2 separate regions of the Homo sapiens genome follow, and region 2 is linked to region 1. The links are contacts of gene promoters, found by promoter capture Hi-C in human tissues and cell types (Jung and others, 2019). All regions are on one chromosome and are shown on one strand. The core of a region is centred on a gene start or on the middle of the fragment in contact, and the rest is flanking DNA. Distances in the headings are between cores, read along the strand shown. Region 1 holds the start of LGR6 (leucine rich repeat containing G protein-coupled receptor 6). Region 2 overlaps PPP1R12B (protein phosphatase 1 regulatory subunit 12B).

The links. The method cuts DNA at HindIII sites, captures the fragments that hold promoters and counts their contacts. A contact is called where the count stands out against the background at its distance.
Region 2: a contact is called between a fragment that was not itself captured here and the fragment with the promoter of LGR6 in region 1, in 1 of the 25 tissues and cell types used here (neural progenitor cells).

What each region holds. Positions count from the first base shown.
Region 1 is chr1:202,190,225-202,195,733 of GRCh38, forward strand. LGR6 (leucine rich repeat containing G protein-coupled receptor 6) reads left to right here and starts at 3,575. Exons shown (of 18, transcript NM_001017403.2): 1 at 3,575-3,977. The coding sequence starts at 3,766. RefSeq lists enhancers at 2,161-2,964, 2,659-2,708. The HindIII fragment of the contact is 27,919 bases long and covers 1-5,509 here.
Region 2 is chr1:202,585,460-202,591,212 of GRCh38, forward strand. It overlaps PPP1R12B (protein phosphatase 1 regulatory subunit 12B), which reads left to right. Exons shown (of 24, transcript NM_002481.4): 24 at 1-5,753. It overlaps SYT2 (synaptotagmin 2), which reads right to left. Exons shown (of 9, transcript NM_177402.5): 9 at 5,137-5,753. Among named protein-coding and RNA genes, the nearest start is that of SYT2, 120 kb to the right of the region's middle. RefSeq lists enhancers at 3,330-4,529, 3,935-3,984, 5,655-5,753. The HindIII fragment of the contact is 7,763 bases long and covers 1-5,753 here.

The DNA.
Region 1 (5,509 bases), core at 2,325-4,824:
ACAGAGAAAACCTGGACAGATCAGAGCAAGAGTCCCTGAAGTGGAGTTGGGTCTCCCCAAGGGGAAGAGGGGAGAGCTCTTTGGCCAACCTGAGTTCCTACTAAGGTGCAACGGGTCAGAAGTCAGTGGAGGGTCCTTCTCAGGGCTGGTTGAAGAAGGGTACAGAGGTCGTGCTGGCTGCTCAGCCGGGAGCTTTCCCAGAATGAGACTAAAGCACTGGTGCCCTCCCAGGAGGACTAAATGTCAGTGTCCTCCATATGCCATGTTTATCAGGAGCTGAGGGTGGGCCCCCTAATGACCCTCATAAAAGCAGGCTGGAGGCTCTGCTCTGAGCTGCCCAAGTCTGTCTCAAGCAGCTGCTGCTGAGGTTGAAACAGGGCTCAACCATGGCTTTTCCACTCTGGGAAGATCTCACATTGGAGCAGCAGGAGCTGCAAATGAGATGGAGCCGAGGCTATGGTTGAGTGAAGGAAGTGCAGGCTGGCCTGCGGTAGCTTTCTTCCATAGGGCAGAGGTGGCTCTATCTGTGGGTCTTTCTGGTCATGTAGGCCCATCCTCTGGCCTTCCTAGGAGGCTCGTCTTCTTTTATTTATTTATTTATTTATTATTTTTTTTTAATTGATCATTCTTGGGTGTTTCTCGCAGAGGGGGATTTGGCAGGGTCACAGGACAATAGTGGAGGGAAGGTCAGCAGATAAACAAGTGAACAAAGGTCTCTGGTTTTCCTAGGCAGAGGACCCTGCGGCCTTCCGCAGTGTTTGTGTCCCTGGGTACTTGAGATTAGGGAGTGGTGATGACTCTTAACGAGCATGCTGCCTTCAAGCCTCTGTTTAACAAAGCACATCTTGCACCGCCCTTAATCCATTTAACCCTGAGTGGACACAGCACATGTTTCAGAGAGCACAGGGTTGGGGGTAAGGTCACAGATCAACAGGATCCCAAGGCAGAAGAATTTTTCTTAGTACAGAACAAAATGAAAAGTCTCCCATGTCTACCTCTTTCTACACAGACACGGCAACCATCCGATTTCTCAATCTTTTCCCCACCTTTCCCGCCTTTCTATTCCACATAGCCGCCATTGTCATCCTGGCCCGTTCTCAATGAGCTGTTGGGCACACCTCCCGGACGGGGCGGCTGGCCGGGCAGAGGGGCTCCTCACTTTCCAGTAGGGGCGGCCGGGCAGAGGCGCCCCTCACCTCCCGGACGGGGCGGCTGGCCAGGCGGGGGGCTGACCCCCCCACCTCCCTCCCGGATGGGGCGGCTGGCCGGGCAGAGGGGCTCCTCACTTCCCAGTAGGGGCGGCCGGGCAGAGGCGCCCCTCACCTCCCGAGCGGCTGGCCGGGCGGGGGGCTGATTCCCCCACCTCCCTTCCGGACGGGGCGGCTGGCCAGGCGGGGAGCTGACCCCCCCATCTCCCTCCCGGACGGGGTGGCTGCCGGGCGGAGACGCTCCTCACTTCCCAGACGGGGTGGCTGCCGGGCGGAGGGGCTCCTCACTTCTCAGACGGGGCGGCTGCTGGGCGGAGGGGCTCCTCACTTCTCAGACAGGGCGGTTGCCAGGCAGAGGGTCTCCTCACTTCTCAGACGGGGCGGCCGGGGAGAGACGCTCTTCACATCCCGGACGGGGCGACAGGGCAGAGGCGCTCCCCACATCTCAGACGATGGGCAGCCGGGCAGAGACGCTCCTCACTTCCTAGATGGGATGGCGGCCGGGAAGAGGTGCTCCTCACTTCCTAGATGGGATGGCGGCTGGGCAGAGACGCTCCTCACTTTCCAGACTGGGCAGCCAGGCAGAGGGGCTCCTCACATCCCAGACGATGGGCGGCCAGGCAGAGACGCTCCTCACTTCCCAGACGGGGTGGCGGCCGGGCAGAGGCTGCAATCTCGGCACTTTGGGAGGCCAAGGCAGGCTGCTGGGAGGTGGATGTTGTAGCGAGCCGAGATCACGCCACTGCACTCCAGCCTGGGCACCATTGAGCACTGAGTGAAGGAGACTCCGTCTGCAATCCCGGCACCTCGGGAGGCCGAGGCTGGCGGATCACTCGCAGTTAGGAGCTGGAGACCAGCCTGGCCAACACAGCGAAACCCCGTCTCCACCCAAAAAATACGAAAACCAGTCAGGCGTGGCGGCATGCGCCTGCAATTGCAGGCACTCGGCAGGCTGAGGCAGGAGAATCAGGCAGGGAGGTTGCAGTGAGCCGAGATGGCAGCAGTACAGTCCAGCTTCGGCTCGGCATCAGAGGGAGACCGTGGAAAGAGGGGAGAGGGAGAGGGAGAGCGAGAGCGGAGGCTCGTCTTCTACTTTCAGCGCCATGGCACCAACTGGAGGCCTAGGGTCAAGGTCTGCTCATTTCTTGGTCCAGCTATGCAGCCCCTCTAGCCCTGGGAGGTTATTGGGAGAGTGGAGAGGTGTTGATGAGAGGATCCTGGCATGTGGAAAGACAGGGTGGAAGAAATCCTGGATGCCTCTGAGGTCCCAGGTTTCTAGTATACCCTCTGGCTGGACCATGGGGAGATAGGGCAAAAAAAGGAAGGAGGGGGGCCCACAGCCTGCTCTAGCTCTGCGCGGGGGCTTGGCTCAGCATGGGAGAGACCAGAGAGAGCAAGAGGCTGCATGAAGGAAGCACAGCCAGCTCACTATGGTCTAAGGAGAGAACAGGGATTGACCTCAGTTTTAACCACCATGCCCTTTGCTCTCCAGGGCTCTGGGGCCGGCCCAGGTCAGCCACTTGGTGGGATTCCAGCCTCAGGGTGGCTGAGCTGCAGGTGCAGCACCCGGCCTCCAGGTGGCACCAATCCGCTTACTTTGAGGTGGGCTCTGACAACCAGCTGAGCTGCCCACAGTCCCTCAGACTCCCGAGGTCCTGGGAGCAGGGATCAAGGTGGTCCCCAGGCCGTAAACCTGACAGAGGCTGCAGGAGTGCATTTCCACCCAGGGTGCACTCAGCGGGTGTAACTCCACACCCGTTTCTTTGGAGTCAAGGCCCGGCCTCTCAGTGAGGAGACTGCTCCTGGTTGCCCACCGTCGGGTCATCCCAGCCTGCAGTGGAACCCTCCGCAGCCTGGCCTCTTCCAGGGTAGCCCCTCACTCCCCTCTCTCCTGTCCTAGCAGACAGGCCAGGGAGGGTGGACGAGTTCCAGCTCTGGGGATGTCCCATCAGCTGTGTCACCTTGAACAAATCATTTTGCCTCTTGGGTCTCAGTTTCCTGCAGTGTGAAACGTGGTGGAGGCATGAGGGGCAATGGGAGCCCCAAGGCCTCTTTCAGAGACCTCCTCTGGGTCCCATGTGACCTCGTGGCTGTCCCCAAAGGCAAGAGGGTCCCCAGCCCTGCGGCCAAGGCCCTGGGACACCCTATCCAAACAAATGCAGGTCTCTGACGGGCTGAGCTTTGCTCGCTTGGGTTTCTTTGCTTTCTTCCTTTTTTTTTTTTCTTTCCTGGATGAAATTCCTGCCAGCTCCGAAGGAAGGAGGGAAGAGGAGCGAGCCGCAGTGTAGAAAGTTTCCTTGACTCCTCCTCCGGCTGGGTCTCCCTCCCTTGCCAAGCCCAGCCTGTGAAACTGAATAACGAAGATCACTCAACAATGCCTGCCCCTCTCTGACTGCACCGTCCCGGCGCTCCCACCGCCGCCGCCGCCGCCCAATAGAGCCCCTGGGGCGGTCCCCACCGACGGTGCAGCCCGCCGGGACCGGGAGGAAGCAGCTGCGGCCATCGCGCCGTGCGTCCGCGCCCGGCCGCCAGGTGCCCCAGTAGCCCGACCGCCGAGATGCCCAGCCCGCCGGGGCTCCGGGCGCTATGGCTTTGCGCCGCGCTGTGCGCTTCCCGGAGGGCCGGCGGCGCCCCCCAGCCCGGCCCGGGGCCCACCGCCTGCCCGGCCCCCTGCCACTGCCAGGAGGACGGCATCATGCTGTCTGCCGACTGCTCTGAGCTCGGGCTGTCCGCCGTTCCGGGGGACCTGGACCCCCTGACGGCTTACCTGTGAGTACTGCCCGCCTGTCCCCGCCTGGTCCTGCGGGCTGCTGGCTAGCGCCCAGTCCCGGCCTCAGCAGGGCACCTGCTTGCTTGGTGCCCTGGGGCATGGGCATCCCGGAGAGGGTTTGCCCCCTTCCAAGTTGACCGTTGCGGGACTGGGGAGGGGAGAAGAGTCTGAGACTAAATACCAGGCGAGCAGGGAGACCGGGCTTCCCTGACTTGGCTTCCCCATTGGCCTCCGTGCTTGTGGGCTGACTATGGGAGCCCAGGCTTGGCGAGGTGGGTTCTGGACCCTGAGCGGGAGGGCGCGGGGCTGGCTGCTCCATCTCCTGTTGCTGCATTCTCTTCTAGCAGAGCAGTGCCCGGGATGGTGGCTGAGGGTAAAGCTGACAGAACTGGAGGTGGAGGTGAGGGGAGCGTGCCCCAGTAGGGTGGAAATAATGTCTGTTCTTCTGCCATGGTGAGGACAACAGGGCTGTCACACTGAGGCTGGGTGGCCTTCGTGGGGGCGGGGGGGGCGGGTTTCCTAGAAGCTGGGAGGGGGGCCTTATCCACTCTTGTCTCCTCAGAAAGGGACTCTGCCAGCACCATCTCCCTTCACTGGGGCCTCCTGGCTCCCCCAGGGGCCTCCCTAAAGTCATGTCCCAAGAGGCTGTGTTGGAGACACTAATTTGTGGGCAGGCGCCGAGGCTGAAAACCAGAGAACCATTTTTAGCGTCTGAGTTGGGGTGAGATGGCGCGTGAAGGGGACCCTACTGGGGGCAGCTGTCCTGTCTGTCTGGCTCATGGGAGCTTCCCCTCAGAGCTGGAGGGCTGGGGGCTCTGGCTGCTCACCACCTGGGCAGGAGGAGGGTGAGAGAGCACATTCCAGGCCACCCACCTGCACCCCCAGCCCCGCTCTGGGGCAAGGAAACCTCCTCCAGCCCAGCTCTGCAGGCTCTATCAACTTCCTCAGAGGAGCTGGGAGCAGGTGGGAAAGCCTGGTGGGGCCTTCTGCTGAGGGCTAGGATCCCAGAGTTCCTTCTGGCCTGAGAGAGGCTCCTTATGGCTTTGGGGTTCCAGCACATGGGAGCTTAGAGGAAGAGGAGGCTGGGTGAATCTTTATAGGGGCCTAGCAAGAATTTGTGGAACTAAAGATGCTCAGTGTTGGGAGTGTCCTGGTGGGAGGTAGAGGGTCCCAGAGGGCAACTCTTCATGGGGCTCCTCTCCAAATGTCCCTGTCCCCAGGTTGGGATGTCCCCCTCCACTCCAAAAGGCACAGGCTGTGGGCCAGGTAAGGGAGTGGGAAGAGAAAAATAATGTCCATCTAGAAGGACAAATGGAATCCTTCACAGTGCAGTAGGTGACGGCAGAGGCAATCATGGGAATAAAGGTACCAACTGCACAGAGCCTGGGCGCTCAGCATCTGGCAAAGCAGGGCAGGCTCCGGCCCCACCCTACACACAGGCCAGCCCCTCTTTCAGCAGTTTTCTATCCTGGGAGTATGTGACATTGGTTCATTTGAAGACAGGGTCCTGTGGCTAAAGAGTTTAGATGTG
Region 2 (5,753 bases), core at 2,091-4,590, 400 kb after region 1:
TGACTTTGGGCAGGTCACCCTCCCTGTCTGTAAAATGAGGTTGGACTGGATAATCTTTATGTGCCCTTTCCTTTTGGCTTAAAATTCTGTGATTTATTCATTCTTAGGAAGATCAGCATATTTATTGGGATTTCTGCTTCAAAAATTCTTTCTAACCTCAAAAATCCAAGTCCAGAATTTTTTGTTTTCTTCTGGATTTAAACTGTTTAATATGAGCACATCAAGGTTGACTTCTCATCCTTTTTGGGAAGTGAATTTAATATTGAGGGTAATTGAATGATGTTGCAATGGCTTTCCCTCCTGCTGGCTTGGTAAGAATATTAAAGCCTGCAGAGGTGGAAATTGGAGCTCATGGAGAAATGGATAGAAAGCAATTTGTTGCAGGCAGCCTTTGGACAAGTTGTTTTAATAGGAAATAGACCTGCTGCTTCATAGGTTTCCTCAACCACCTTTCCTCAGCTTTCTTAAAATGGGATCTACATTGGCTCTTCACACCCAAATAGCAGACTAATCGTTTTTCTGCTTAGCACCGTCTGGTTCATTGTCTTGAACTCTGCCTTACAGCAGCAAGAAAATTTTCCTCGACAAGAACCTCAATCTTTAGTTCCATTGAGCTCCCCCTCTGGATTTTGGACTTACCAGAAGTAGGAGGTTCTGATACCATTCAAGATGGTCTTTCCTTCAAAGCAGGTCTGAAGAGGAGACTACCAAAGCAGTGTTTACAAACCCAGAGTCCACACAACCATATTGCATAGAACAGCACTTGGCTTTCACAAGCCTCCTACAGGACCTGGTGTAATTGGAGTGAAAGGGCAGAGACCCTGGAAGTGGAGGTGGCTGTGTGCTGCGATGGGAAGAAGGCAGAAGGCCCAGGGGCTTTGGACATAGAGCAGGGTGGAAGCTGCAAGTACTGGGAAGGAAGAGAGTTTCACAGAAACAAAGCTTTGTCACACAGAAATGAGTTCTGTCTCACTGGTGACTTCATCCCTCAGGCTCCAGCTGAGCAGAGATTTTAATCAGCTTCCTTAATGGGTATTGACACTGCTCAGGAAGCAGTAGACCCTGTCAGGGACAGCTATTGATCTTTTGTGTTCTGATTAGATTGGAAAATAGATCAACTTCATTGTAGTCCAGGAACTGTTGGTCACAGCTACTAGGAATGAGGTGATTTCTGAGGGCTGAGAAAAAACACAGAATCTTGGCCAGCAGCCAGCAGCTGCATGGTGAAAGATGCATTCACTTCTCCTTTGAGAGTTGGGGTTGAGGGCAAACATAGAACCCAGGTTTGGCTTACAACCCAGTGTCCCGGAAGCCCTCCTTCGGGAGAACTGTAAGTAAGAGGTGGGTGTGTCTAAAGACAATACCATTAATGAATGTTCTGGCCTTACCTAAAAAGGTTTAGCAATTTGGGGATAACTCTTGGATCTAGCTTATGTGCGTTCACATGCACATTTGCTAGCCCAGAGCTTTTAAAATGAGGTCTGGCATATACTTGATTACAAATGAAAACTCAGAAACCAATTTTATTTATTAAATCATATCTTTTGTTTTTCCCCCTCCCTTCTAATCCCCCAAAGGACCTATTTGAGCTGTTCCCCAATTCATCTGCTTATTTTGGACCATGAATCTGCCAGAGTGATATTTTCTGTTATTTCTCCTCCAAATTTTTCCCTGATGTTTCCAATAAAGATTTACTTGGGTGGCCCCTTAAGGTGACATCAGGATGCTCTTATGTCCTTCCAGAATAAGCATACACTTCACTCCTCTCCCTTTCATCTCCCTCTGCATTCTTAATTCCTTGCTTTTCTCACTTGGAGCCGAGGGTGCTTTAGAGAGGTGGTTTTCCATGAATCAGCCAAGATTCCTGTAGAAGTTGGGTATACCAACCACCACCACCACCGCCCCCTATTCCAGTTTCAAAGCTCCTCGGCTATGCTAATGTCCCCTCAGAGATGAGGTTTGACTTTTAGGCCCGTATGACTCCTCCATAGCCTGGCCAAGGAGACCATGAGTAGCCATGTCTGGTTTACTCTTTATCCTGAGACTGTTTATAGCTTAAAACAGAAGTGTGTCTTCCCAGCACAAACCTAATCAATCAGTGTATCAGTGCATCTGGTGGCAACAGCTCAGCCCATTCAAAGAGCAAGGATTCAGGAAAGGCACACTGATGGTGGGGAGCCTCTTAAGAGCCTCTAATGTTCTCCCAAAACCAGAGTTGAGAGTCGGAGTGCCAGTCGTCGGGGCCCACTATTCCTGAATAAGGGACATGCAAGGGCCAGAAGTAGCTTGACTCTCGCCTAAATATCTGTGCCTTTGCCTGTCCTTTCTCCCACTCTACTGAAACCCGGAACAGATTCCCGCTTGCCTTCTGATGAAGAGAGGTTAGGTAAAGAGAGTTTGGAGGAAAAAAGACACCAGGAGGCAGGCTGCGGGGTAGGAGAGGGTTCTGAGAGGAGGCAGCAATCCAGAATACCTCCTTTTCTAGCCAGCATCCCTTGAACTTTTGAAAGGTTGTGCCTACCACTGGCTGGCACACCAGGGCAATGATTTCCCTGCAGAAGGAAGGAAAGAATGTTTCACCCTTGCATCCTTCTTGGAGAAGCTACAGCCTGTGCTCAGTTGAGTGGTTCACACTCAGACTTTGGCTTTATGGTTTTCCTTCCTCCTTGTCTTTGCCCTGACCTTGATCAACAGGGGTGAAAAGAACCACCCTGAGGTTTCCATGCCTCTCCCATTTTAGTGGTAGCATTTTGTGTCTTTACTCCACCCTTCACCCTAGTTCCACCAAGGTTCACACACCAGATGTAACTGTTTTTCAGCTGAGTTGTATGGATTAACTTCAGTCCACTGTAAATACACCTGGGATGGGGTGGGGTTGGGGTTGTTTAGGGAGAAGCAGCCAGACTTGCTTTGTGAACTGAATGTATTTTTATGCAATTTTGAGTGGCCTTTCAACCCTAAGATGAATGGTTTTGTTTTACTGGTTGTTGTTATATAGTTTTGAGTATTCTGTGTTTGAAAGTTTGGGAATAATAATATTCACTTCTATATGATGCCTGTAAACACAACAGTATTTATAAATGAGTAAATAAAACTGTGTTTTAACTTTGTGACTGTCTCCACAGTTCAGAGCATGGGATTTCTAGAATCTCACATCTGGGGCAGCCTCTTCTGATTTTACATCTTATCATTGGTGGGGGCCTCGCCCACCAGCCTCCTACAACTCCTGTCCACATAGAGGCCCCTTCCCCAGGGACAGCCACAGTGAGTCATGGCCACTGAGAAGGGTCTCTGGTAGTATCAAGGAATTTCCTAAATGGAGTCAGGCCAAGGAGAAGCCTAGATTGGCGTTCAAAAGAACCGTAAGATAGATAGATAGATAGATAGATAGATAGATAGATAGATAGATAGATATCAAGGTTCCAAGCTTCAAGTAACCAAGAGTATATACGGTTATTTCTTGGAAGACACCAGGTTTAAGTGACAAAGGTGTTGAGGCCATCCAGGTGAACACTAGCACACTCTAGTACATGGGAAAGTTGAGGTCTAGGGAGGTGGTGATTTCCTTGGGCTCATGGAAGTCTCCTGCCATCACCCTTAGTCATCTGCTATATCCATAAGTCTTCATGAGGTCATTGTTTAATTCAGGAGATCCAAAACTATCCTGTAGTTCCAAACTACAAATGTAGTTAACTTGGGGGCTATTGAAGGTTAAATCTAAACTCAAAATGAAGGAGCCATGCCCAGAGAAGAGCTGTTCAGGCCCGCTGGCAGGGTTTGTACGTGGGTGGCCAGGTCTGACCCCAGGCAGCCAGGATCTGGGTCTGGTTTCTCCATCCAGCAAGCCCTGCCTCTGGCTTTGCTCAGCCCTGTGTTTCCTGCCAAGCGGAAATCCCTGGTCACTGACTTGGGGAGAGGTCAGGGAGGGAAGATTCTTCTCCCCTGATGTCACCCAGCTGTTTGTAACCCAAGCAGCAGCAGAACAAGCACACTTGATGTCATGGTTGAAGAATTCAGTCCTGTCCTGGGGCACAAAACAGAGGCAAAGAAGCATGACCGATGCAAAGGGTTCCTAGACTGCAAATGTCATTTCTCTTTCTGACCCCCACTGGTTGTAGTAAGGTCTGCAGATACAGTATCACCTAGCCGTCACGTGGTCCAGCCCTCTTGGGGGGAAAGGAGAAGGCCACAACCTATTGGCAGAGTAAAAAGCTCATATTCTTAGCCAGGAGACCCTCAGGTGATAAATCCCAGTCCGTCTGCTGAAAGGCTCATGCCCCTCACCCTACCCAGCCTTAGGGACTGAAGCAGCAAGACAGGATAGATGTTAAAGGATCTGGGCTCATGCTCCCTCAGGTGGGCAGCTCCCATCCCTGCTTGCATTCACTGCCCCCATGCCTTTGGACCTGATGGACAAGCACACATCTAGCCAACGGTGTTCCTGGAGGACAGGTGCTGGTGTAAACTGACAAAAATGGTAGCTGCTGGTCTATCCTCAAGGAGAGGAGACAGGTGGAAGTGGGAACCGAAGAAGGAGTTTTACTCTTCCCTGGTCTTTGGGGGCAATGCTGTCCCACTCTCCCTTTCCCTAAAAATTCTGACGCCCTATCCCTGGTCCCTAACATCTTTGCTTCAGAAGTTAAAGACATTTCAAGTTATTTGCAAAGAGTCAACTGAGGACTTTGTAGAAATTGTTACTTTTCAAATTCCCACTTCCCAGGGCCAGCCTCCCTCTCGTCATTGGGCTCAGACTGTGGCTGTTCCCTAAGCCCAGCTCTACTGGAAGGGAATTCAAGAATATAGTCCCCACCACCACCCCGCCCCGCCCAGCCTCCCAGACAATGTTCCCCGGCACCACCACACTCCCCACAGTTCCACAGCCTGGCATGTGTTCTCAGGAGATGTGTGGGCCCCAGCACCCACCAGAGTGCCAATCTGGTCTTCCCCCAACCCCAGGAGAGAGGGGACCTCAGCCCCTTTTGGTGCTTCCCTGAAGGGAGATTCTGGGTTAGAAGCCAGAGCCTCAGGACCATCTCACCACCCTCACCCACCATACTGACCCTCACAGGCAGCTCCCACTCCCTCACCCCCACCTCAGCGCAGCAAAAACAACCAGAGACACCCCCCACCCCCAGGTTTCTTTCAGCTCATTTCTTTAATAAGGAGACGCAGTTCATTACAAAATAACAATTTGACAAGAGATCAGACAAGAACAAGAGTCCACATAAGGGAGATGGAGAGCATTGCCAAGCAGAAGTGGGAATGAGAGGGCCGGGGGCAAGGGCTGTACATGTGTCCTTCCTATGGAGACGAAGGCAGGGCTCCTGGTGGGCTGACCTTGGCGAAGCTAGGCTCTGCCAGGCCCTGATTTTGAAGTTTTCAGCCCCAGGGTTTTCAGAAAGCAGCAAATCAAGTCCTTAGATGGGCAGGAGTCAGGGCAGAAGGGTCACTATCTTTGAAGAGGCCCCCCTAAAGTCCTGATCGCTAAGGCAGGTGGGATGGAGGAACTCCTGGTGCCCCATGCACACTGCTCCCATCACCTCACCAGACAGATGCTCTCTCAACTCTTGCCTCAATTTGTCTCTGCTGTGGGTGTGGAGAGTGGGAGGGCCCCAGAGAGAGCTGGAGGAAGCAAGACATGTCTTCACTGGTCCAAGCACCTGATTCCAGCCTGCTCTGAAATGGTCCCCTCCACCTTCCCCACTCTTTCAGTTCCCAGCACAAAGGTCCCTGGGACTTCTGTGTGCAACTTC